3 separate regions of the Homo sapiens genome follow, and regions 2 and 3 are each linked to region 1. The links are contacts of gene promoters, found by promoter capture Hi-C in human tissues and cell types (Jung and others, 2019). All regions are on one chromosome and are shown on one strand. The core of a region is centred on a gene start or on the middle of the fragment in contact, and the rest is flanking DNA. Distances in the headings are between cores, read along the strand shown.

The links. The method cuts DNA at HindIII sites, captures the fragments that hold promoters and counts their contacts. A contact is called where the count stands out against the background at its distance.
Region 2: a contact is called between a fragment that was not itself captured here and the fragment with the promoter of ZNF69 in region 1, in 2 of the 25 tissues and cell types used here (dorsolateral prefrontal cortex and pancreas).
Region 3: a fragment that was not itself captured here is called in contact with the fragment with the promoter of ZNF69 in region 1 in 1 of the 25 tissues and cell types used here (dorsolateral prefrontal cortex).

What each region holds. Positions count from the first base shown.
Region 1 is chr19:11,885,806-11,889,147 of GRCh38, forward strand. It overlaps ZNF69 (zinc finger protein 69), which reads left to right and starts at 1,977. Exons shown (of 4, transcript NM_001364730.1): 1 at 1,977-2,181. The coding sequence starts at 2,119. RefSeq lists an enhancer at 2,174-2,223. The HindIII fragment of the contact is 10,336 bases long and covers 775-3,342 here.
Region 2 is chr19:11,582,642-11,586,159 of GRCh38, forward strand. LOC124904638 (a long non-coding RNA gene) reads left to right here. Exons shown (of 2, transcript XR_007067140.1): 2 at 776-1,023. It also overlaps the pseudogene GAPDHP76. Among named protein-coding and RNA genes, the nearest start is that of ACP5, 6.8 kb to the left of the region's middle. RefSeq lists enhancers at 1,244-1,383, 1,394-1,453. The HindIII fragment of the contact is 7,524 bases long and covers 1-3,518 here.
Region 3 is chr19:12,314,521-12,317,741 of GRCh38, forward strand. It overlaps ZNF563 (zinc finger protein 563), which reads right to left. Exons shown (of 4, transcript NM_145276.3): 4 at 2,957-3,221. Among named protein-coding and RNA genes, the nearest start is that of ZNF563, 18 kb to the right of the region's middle. The HindIII fragment of the contact is 6,161 bases long and covers 1-3,221 here.

The DNA.
Region 1 (3,342 bases), core at 727-3,226:
TTGTGTCATACCATGCATCCGTAGGCTAATACAAAGGATTGTACGAACAGCATTTACTGAAACCTCCCTTAGTTCTCCTCCACCTTATTCAAGTAAGCTTTTCCTTTTAAAAGATCAAATCAAACAGCAAAGCCAAAACACGTTAAAAAAGTTTAAAGAGAAAAAATCATAAGAAAATTAAAAGGGAGGAATTGTAACATACAGTAAATTTCTCTGAGTTTCTTTTTTTTTTTTTTTTTGAGACGGAGTCTCACTCTGTCACCCAGGCTGGAGTGCAGTGGCGTGATCTCGGCTCACTGCAAGCTCTGCCTCCTGGGTTCATGCCATTCTCCTGCCTCAGCCTCCCGAGTAGCTGGGACTACAGGCGCCCACCACCACGACTGGCTAATTTTTCGTATTTTTTAGTAGAGACGGGGTTTCACCATGTTAGCCAGGATGGTCTCGATCTCCTGACCTCGTGATCTACCCGCCTCAGCCTCCCAAAGTGCTGCGATTACAGGCGTGAGCCACCGCGCCTGGCCTCTCTGAGTTTCTCTTCAAAGACTTAGCCTGCTAACTTCCTTGTCTTTTGTTCTCCAGCTCAACTTTCCTGTTCCTCCTTGCCCCTAGTTACTGTAAAACAGCCTACCCCCTTCCCGTCAGCTCTAATCAATAACTCACATCTGTTCCCTTGGTTACCTGTACCCATTGTTCCCCCGAAACTGCACGTCTCACACGCTCCATCTCTGTACCTCACGTTCCCCTCTCCTTCTATATTTAGAAAAATACGTACAAGTAGCCAGTCGGGTCAGCTCAGATTGTGTGGTCGAACCCCAGCCCATGAAGGAGTGACACAGAGATAGGGACCGCATTAAGGATAAAAAAACCCCCGGTGACCTTTGTTCTCTGTGCTCTTGTGATCTTGATTGACACAAGTGGCACACTTCTGCAGAAGTAAATTGCCTTGCTAAACAAATGAAACTTTCCCCTAAGTGCTAGTTTTACTTCGTGGGACCAAGAATTTATTCCTAAAGCATTTTATATCCGACAGAGATATTCATATATATAAAGAAAATGTGGGCCAGGCGCGGTGGCTCACGCCTGTAATCCCAGCACTTTGGGTGGCCGAGGCGGGTGGATCACTTGAGGTCAGGAGTTCAAGACCAGTCTGGTCAACATGGTGAAACCTTGTCTCTACTAAAAATACAAAAAATTAGCCAGGCGCGGTGGCATGTGCCTGTAATCCTAGCTGCTGGGGAGGCTGAGGCAGGAGAATCACTTGAACCCAGGAGGCGGAGGTTGCAGTGAGTGGAGATTGCACCACTGCACTCCAGCCTGGGGGGACAGAGCGAGGCTCTGTCTCAAAAAAAAAAGAAAAGAAAATGTGTGAAGATCAGGCTAGAGACAGAAATGTTTGGGAGCGTCACCTGGATAAAGGGTTCATGAAGTTGGCAGTTTATTTAGGTCAAAAGCTTAACTTAACCCCTGGAGAGAGTTTCCTGCTGGTGAAAATGAAGATCTGGAAGGAGGAAGCATTTTCACACTGTGAGGAGGGGATGGGGGTGTGAGAGCAAGTCTTAGCCATGCCTCATCCCCAGTTGCGGCCCGCTCCAAGACATATGCCTCTCCTCCTGGCGCAGTCGTGTCTGGCCTGGTCTCGGTTCCCCTGCTGCTCTGAGGCAGGAGATGGCTCCTGTGGACACTGAATCTGAAATTCCCTGCACACTCCTGTGACCCCATGCAGAACGAAGGAGCAGGGACAGTCCCTTGAGTGAGGAAGACGCTAGTGTTCTCCTCTATCAATAGCAAGTTTGGCTGAAATGCAAATATCCAATAACCAGAGTGCAGGAAGGAGCTCGCCCTTGGAAAAGCTGTGGTCAGAATCCGTCTGTCTGGCTCTGCAGGGCCCGATACCCAGGGCTTCCGCTGTCACTCAGACATGGGGGGCGGGGCCTAGCATTCCATCCAATCAGAGGCATTGTGGCGGGTCCCTGCCCACTGTTCCTCCAGACACTGAGGGGGTCGCATTCCTTACCTCACCTTTGTCCCTGCGCGGGCTGCGGCTGGGATCCGGTCTTTCCAGCCCCGAGAGGGACCTGGTTCCTCTGCCCAGGCTTCTGTCACTCTGTCACCTACGCTATGCCCTGCTGTAGTCACAGGAGGTGTAGAGAGGACCCCGGGACATCTGAAAGCCAGGAAATGGTGCGTGTCTGGGGCCGGGTGTCGTGAGACGGGGGAGGGGCTGCCTGGACCGACCGGAACCGACTGTGGCGAGACCCTGGCTTTCCTGCGGGCGACTTTGGGATCTGGGACCGAGTCCTCCTGGAGCCGCTCGGCCCTCGGTCCCCTCGACTGCTCGGTGTGGCTGGGCCGGTAGCCGGGACACCAGGCGTCCTGTCTCGTCTCTGCGCGGCGACTGCGGTTCCAGAGCCCTCTATGGGCAGCTCCGCGCCCGCAGCCACGCGTCTACCCAGATTGTGCGGGGGCCACGGGAGGGTCATGTGGGTGATCCCGACTCGGGTGTGGGGTTCGTGCTTGGGAGGAGCAGCGGTCTGTGGGGCCCCCAGTGTCCACTTTTTCTCCTGTTAAAAATTAAACTGAGGAACGTTAACAAAGAGTTCATTTGAGCAAACAGCGATTCACGAATGAGACACACCCAGTCCTGGCTTGTGGTTTGTCAACGGAAAAAGCCAAACTATGTAAAATAAAGAAGTTTATTCGGAGCCGAATAGGAGAGACCTTGGCCGAGGGAAAAACAACCCCAAGAAGCCTGGAGTAAGTGGTCCCGAGGCGGCTCAAGACAGTTTGGTTTTATTCATTTTAGAGAGACAGGAATTGCAGGGAAAATCATGAATTAGTGCCTGGAAGGTGTAATTTCCTTAGGCAGAAAGGGAGGGACCTGGCCGGGCACGGTGGCTCACGCTTGTAATTCCAGCACTTTGGGAGGCCAAGGCGGGCGGATCACCTGAGGTCAGGAGTTCAAGACCAGCCTGGCCAACATGGTGAAACCCCGTCTCTACTAAAAATATAAAAAAGAAACTAGCCGGGCGTGATGGTGGACGCCTGTAATCCCAGCTACTCGGGAGGCTGAGACAAGAGAATTACTTGAATCCAGGAGACAGGTTGCAGTGAGCCCACACAGTGCCACTGCACTCCAGCCTCAGCACAGAGTGCGACTCTGTCTCAAAACAAAAACAAAAACAAAAAACAGAAAGGGCGGGACCTGTGGAAGGGGGGTTAGAAGGCACAGGTGGTTGAGGGATTCTGTAGGTGGCAGCTGGTTGAGAGTGTGAAGCTTTGTCTAAAGTTTGGAGGAGGTAGGAAGGAATGCTGAAGGAAGGGGGTCTGTTATCTGCCACTTGA
Region 2 (3,518 bases), core at 1,015-3,514, 300 kb before region 1:
AGATCGCACCATTGCACTCTAGCCTGGGTGGTAGAGCAAGACTCTGTCTCAAAAAATAATAATAATAAATTAAAAGATTAAAGAATAAGCTGGCACAGTGGCTCACACCTGTCATCCCAACACTTTTTGTAGAGACCTCATCTCTTAAAAATAAAATTAGCTGGGCGTGGTTGTGTGCACCTGTAGCCCAGCTACTCAGGAGGCTGAGGTGGGAGCATTGCTCAGGAGGTCGAGGCTGCAGTGAGCCATGATTGCACCACTGCACTCCAGTCTGGGTGACAGAGCTGATACACTGTCTCTAAAAAATAATAATAATTGACCGGGCGCAGTGGCTCACGCCTGTAATCCCATCACTTTGGGAGGCCGAGGCGGGCGGATCACGAGGTCAGGAGATCGAGAGCAACATGGCTAACACGGTGAAACCCCGTCTCTACTAAAAATACAAAAAAATTAGCTGGGCGTGGTGGTGGGCGCCTGTAGTCCCAGCTACTCGGGAGGCTGAGGCAGGAGAATGGCATGAACCTGGGAGGTGGAGCTTGCAGTGAGCCAAGATCGCGCCACTGCACTCCATCCGGCTTGGGTGACAGAGCGAGACTCCATCTCAAAAAAAAAATTAATAATAATAATTATTATTATAGTAGTAAAAGAGTATAGAATAAAATGCATCACACTTATAAAATGTAAAATGTTAATTTCAATCCACTAAACTTATAAACGGACCCAAATATGCATCCAATGACCTCTTAAAGTGATATTTCTTTTTCTTTTTGTTGAGATGGAGTCTCACTCACTCTGTCACCCAAGCTGGAGCGCAGTGGTGTGATCTTCAGCTCGTCCCAACCTCCGTCTCCCAGGTTCAAGCGATTCTCCTGACCTCAAGTGATCCGTCTGCCTTGGCATCCCAAAGTGCTGGGATTACAGGCCTGAGGCCAGGCCCTGAATTAATTTTTTGATGTTTCACTTTGCCAGGTGTATAAGTAACATGTTAGTTGTGATTGTAACTAAATAAAGGCTTAAGGGAAACCGTGTTTCTAAATTTCTAAATTGACTACACATTTACAAAGGAACCCACAAAGATGGATTTTTGGGCCGGGCGCAGTGGCTCACGCCTGTAATCCCAGCACTTTGGGAGGCTGAGGCAGACAGATTGCCTGAGTTCAGGAGTTCAAGATCAGCCTAGGCAACAAGGTGAAACCCTTTCTCTACTAAAATACAAAAAAATTAGCTGGGCATGGCAGCGAGCACCTGTAATCCCAGCTACTTGGGAGGCTGAGGCCGGAGAATTGCTTGAACCAGGGAGGCAGAGGTTGCAGTGAGTCGAGATCACACCACCGCACTCCAGCCTGGGCAACACAGTGAGACTCGATCTTAAAAAAAAAAAAAAAAGATGGACTTTTTCGGGGCCCCAAGGCTTCAAAATTCAAAATGCTGTCATGAGTTAGTTTGATTTGAGGAACCAAAAATTGGCTTTTGTGGCTGGAGCAGAGTGAGCAAGGGGGAAGTGAATCCGGAAGGTTGAGTCTGCAAGGTCAAGGGCAAGGAACAGAGAAGGGTGTGGGTGGGGCAGGTTGCGTGTGCTCTTGGGGGCTGCAGGGAAGGGGGCTTTTATCTGGGTAAGGTGGGAGCCACAGAGGGTTCTGATCAGAGGGACAGATCTGACTTAGATTTTGCATGATGTCCCCCAGCTGTGGGCTGCGGGGCATGGGCTGCTGAATAGGTGGTTTAGGTGGGCAAAGATGGGTCATGGTGCCCCCTACCCTTTAAAAATTAAAAGACAGGGCCAGGAGCAGTGGCTCACGCCTGTAATCCCAGCACTTTGGGAGGCTGAGGTGGGCGGATCACCTGAGGTCAGGTGTTTGAGACCAGCCTGACCAACAAGGTGAAACCCCATCTCTACTAAAAATACAAAAAAAATTAGCTGGGCGTGGTGGCAGCCACCTGTAATCCCAGCTACTCGGGAGGCTGAGGCAGGAGAATCGCTTGAACCCGGGAAGCAGAGGTTGCAGTGAGCCAAGATCGTGCCACTGCACTCCAGCCTGGGCGACAAGAGCAAGACTGTCTCAAATAATAATAATAGGCCGGGTGTGGTGGCTCACACCTGTAATCCCAGCACTTTGGGAGGTTGAGGTGGGTGGATCACTGGAGCCCAGGAGTTTGAGACAAGCCTGGGTGACACAGTGAGACCCCATCTAAATTATTATTATTATTATTATTTGAGACAGAGTCTTGCTCCATCACCCAGGCTGGAGTGCAGTGGCGCGATCTTGGCTCACTGCAAGCTCCGCCTCCCGGGTTCACGCCATTCTCCTGCCTCAGCCTCCCAAGTAGCTGGGACTACAGGTGCCCGCCACCACGCCCAGCTAATTTTTTGTATTTTTTAGTAGAGACGGGGTTTCACCATGTTAGTAAGGATGGTCTGGATCTCCTGACCTTGTGATCCGCCTGCCTTGGCCTCCCAAGGTGCTGGGATTACAGGCGTGAGCCACCATGCCCAGCCTGAATTTTTTTTCTTAAAGATTAAAAAGGCAGAGCCTCTCTGCTCCTCCCATTTGACAGACAGCCACATCTTTTCATGCAGTGAAAAAGGCATGTCCCCGAGACACCGTGGTGAAAGTGAAGACAGGAGTAAATGGATTTGGCCATATTGGGTGCCTGGTCACCAGGGCACCAGAGCTGCTTTTAACTCTGGCAGAATGGATGTTGTCACCTCAATGACCCCTTCATTGACCTCAACTACATGGTCTACATGTTCCAATATGATTCTACCCACGGCAAGTTCCGCGGCACCATCAAAGCTGAGAAGTGGGCTGGGTGTGGTGGCTCATGCTTGTAATCTCAGCTACTTAGGAGGTTGAGGTGGGAGGATCACTTGAGACCAGGAGTTCAGGACCAGCCTAGGCAACATAGGGAGATCCTCTCTCTCTTAAAAAAAAAAAAAAAGAAAAGAAAAGACTGAGAAAGAGAAGGGAAGCTTGTCATCAATAGGAAATGGGAATCTCATCCCCATCTTCTAGAAGCCAGATCCCAGCAAAATCAAATTGGGTGACGATGCTGGCACTGGTTATGTCATGGAGTCCACCAGCAGCATCTTCACGACCATGGGGAAGGCTGGGGCTCGCTTAGGATGGGCAGCCAAAGGGATCACCATCTCTGCCCCCTCTGCCCATGCCCCCATGTTTGTGATGGACATGAACCATGAGAGATACAAAAACCTCATGATCGTCAGCAATGCCTCCTGCACCACCAACTGCTTACCCTCCGGCCAAGGTCATCCGTGACAACGTTTTTTTTTGGTTTGGTTTGGTTTTCTTTCTTTCTTTTTTCTTTTTTTGTTTTAAATAGGGATGGAGGCCAGGTGCAGTGACTCATGCCTGTAATCCCAACACTTTGGGAAGCTGCGGTTGGAGGATCACTTGAGCCTAGGAGTTCAAGACCAGCCTGGCCAACATAGCAAGACTCTGTCTCTACAAAAAGTTTAAAAAAATTATCCAGGCATGGTGGGGTGTATCTGTAGTCCC
Region 3 (3,221 bases), core at 383-2,882, 430 kb after region 1:
AAAAAAAAAAAAGAGGCTAACTTCCAGAGCAAATCCTCCATTGTAATGAATCAGGCATGTTCTGGAAGAGGATGCCCAATTGTACCTTCATCACAAGAGTACAAAGAAAGCCTTGGGGTTCATGACTTGGAAAGATTGCCTTACTCTGGTGCTACGTGGCAATGCAGCAGGTCATAAGATCAAACAAAGCCTCCTCTACTAAGTAAACAATCCGTGGGTCCTTGAAAACAAAAGCGAAACTTGCCTGCCCGTGTCCTGACAAAAACACACGAGGACTTGGTTCTACCACTGCTTCATTCCTGATGTGAATGAATACCTTGAAAAGAAGGGGCTGCCACTCAAGGCCCTCCTCATAACTGACAACGCTCCTGGCATCTCTCTTCTCTCTGTTATGCCGATAAAAATGGGGAAGTGATGTTCCTGCCTCCTAAAACTACATCACTGCTACAACTACTTGATCAAAGCATCATCAAGTGCCTCAAGGTGTCTTACACCCACTGGACTTTTGGAAGGATTTATGCTGTCTTGATAATAACCCTCACCATGTCATACAGGATTTATGGAAGAGCTTCCCAACTGCAGAAACGATTGTGTTTATTGCGGAGGCTGTAAATGCCCTACAGCTCAAGACAGCCAAAGTGTGTTGGAAGCCATTATGGAGTGAGGAAGTCAATGATTTCAGGCGCTTCTGCACTATCGATATGATAGTCAGAAATATCTTAAATGTAAGGAAAGTTGGTGGGGAAGGCTATCTCTGACACAAGTGAAGACAATGTTGAGGAACACACAGAAGAGCAAAGAAGAAACCTTTACTAACAAGGAACTAGAAGATATGCTGAAATCCTCTATAGATGATGATGATGATGATGTAGATTTAGAAGAGGCAGTGCCGCCAGGCGTGGTGGCTCACGCCTGTAATCCCAACAGTTTGGGAGGCCGAAGCGGGTGAATCACCTGAGGTCACGAGTTTAAGACCAGCCTGGCCAACATGGTGAAACCCCGTCTCTACTAAAAATACAAAAATTAGCTGGGTGTGGTGGCGGGCACCTGTAATCCCAGCTACTTGGGAGGCTGAGGCATGAGAATCGCTTGAACCCAGGAGGCAGTGTTTGCAGTGAGCCGAGATCGTGCCACTGCACTCCAGCCTGGGTGACAGAGTGAGACTCAGTCTCAATAAATAAATAAAGAGGCAGTGCCATAAGTGGTGGCTCATGCCTGTAATCCCAGCATTCTGAGAGGCCAAGGCAGGCAGATCACTTGAAGTCACAGGGAGTTCAAAACCAGCTTGGCAAACATGGCGAAACCCTGTCTCTACTAAAAATACAAAAATTAGCTGGGCATGGTGGTGCATGCCTGTATTCCCAGCTACTTGGGTGGCTGAGGCAGGAGGATCACTTGAACTTGGGAGGTGGAGGTTGCAGTGAGCTGAGATTGTAATCCCAGCTCCTCAGGTGGCTGATGCAGGAGGATCACTTGAACCTGGGAGGTGGAGGCTGCAGTGAGCTGAGATTGCACCACTGCACTTCAGCCTCAGCGACAGAGTGAGACTCTGTCTGAAAAAAAAAAAAAGAAGCAGTGCTATAGATTTTGATACTTGAAAAATCTGAAGGCTGGGTGTGGTGGCTCACCCTGTAATCCTAGTAATTTGGGAGGCCAAGGCAGGCAGATCTCTTGATTCCAGGAGTTCAAGACCAGCCTGGGAAACATGGTGAAACCTTGTCTCCACAAAAAACACAAAAAGTAGCCAGGCATCGTGATGTGTGCCTATAATCCCAGCTACTTGGGAGGCTGAGGTGGGAAGATCACTTGAGCCCAGGAAGTTGAGGCTGCAGTGAGCCATGCACTGTAGGGTGACAGAGTGAGATCTTGTCTTAAAAAAAAAAAAAAAGAAAAGAAAAAGAAAAAAAAAGAAAAATTGGAAGCAGTTTTAGGGCACCTACAGCTTCTACAAGGCGCAAGTGTTAAAGATTATCATCCTCAATTAAGATTCTTCCATGGAACAAAGCCTCCATGTCACCCCAGAGATTACATGCTCACAAACGTTGCAAAGTTTAAAAAAAAAAAAACTAGCTTCCTACAATGTTTCTAATTAAATATCTGCAAATATGAAGACAGCCTTCAATGCTTAAAGATCTTCAGTCCTCAAATTGAACAGATTCTGACATTAGTATTATTTAGACTGCTCCAAAAATTCAGTATCTGCAGTCAGAATCTGTTTCTTCCAATATAGTTGATCATGTTGACATCCTGTCAAGATTCGAGTTAGCCTGAGGTCTCACTGCTTATCTGTGGTGTCACACATCTAGCTGACTCAACACATCACAACATTAGGCACGATATTGCAATAATCATCATTACACTTTTGTTGGGTGAATGTTAACACATTTTCAGGTCATTAAACAAAAGCAATCTATGAGTGTTGAAAGAAAAGATTTATAATGCTCTAGGTGACATGTATTATGTGGGTGGGTCTGTACTGAATATGTGTAGGGTCTTTCTCATATCATGATTCACTAAACAATATAATAACAACTATTTACATAGCTTCTATGATGCATGATGTATTTTAACTAATCTACAGATGATTTAGAGTATACAGGAGGATGTGGGTAGGTTACATGCAAATATTTTTTATTGTTATTATTTTTTTGAGACAGGGTCTCATTCTGTTGCCCATGCTAGAATGCAGTGATGTGATTTTGACTCACCGCAACCTCAACCTCCCAGGCTCAAGCGATCCTCCCACCTCAGCTTCCCTAGTAGCTGGGACTACAGGTACATGTCACCACACCTGGCTAATTTGTGTATCTTCTGTAGAGACAGGGTTTTGCCACATTACCCAGGCTGGCCTCTAACTCCTGGGCTCAAGTGATCCACCTGTCTTGGGCTCCTAAGGTGCTAGGATTACAGAGGTGAGCAACTGTGTCTAACCCAAATATGTCTTTTCTTTCTTTCCTTTTTTTTTTTTTTTGTGTGTGTGACAGAGGTTGTTTTGCTCTTGCTGCCCAGGCTGGAGTGCAGTGGCGCGATCTTGGCTCACCGCAACCTCCGCCTCCCGGATTCAAGTGATTATCCTGCCTCAGCCTCCTGAGTAGCTGGGATTACAGGCATGTGCCATCACATCCGGGTAATTTTGTACCAAATATGTCATTTTTAAAAAAGGACTTGGCATGTGTCGATTTATGTATGCCCAGGGGGTGGTAGAACCACGCTCCTGCAAA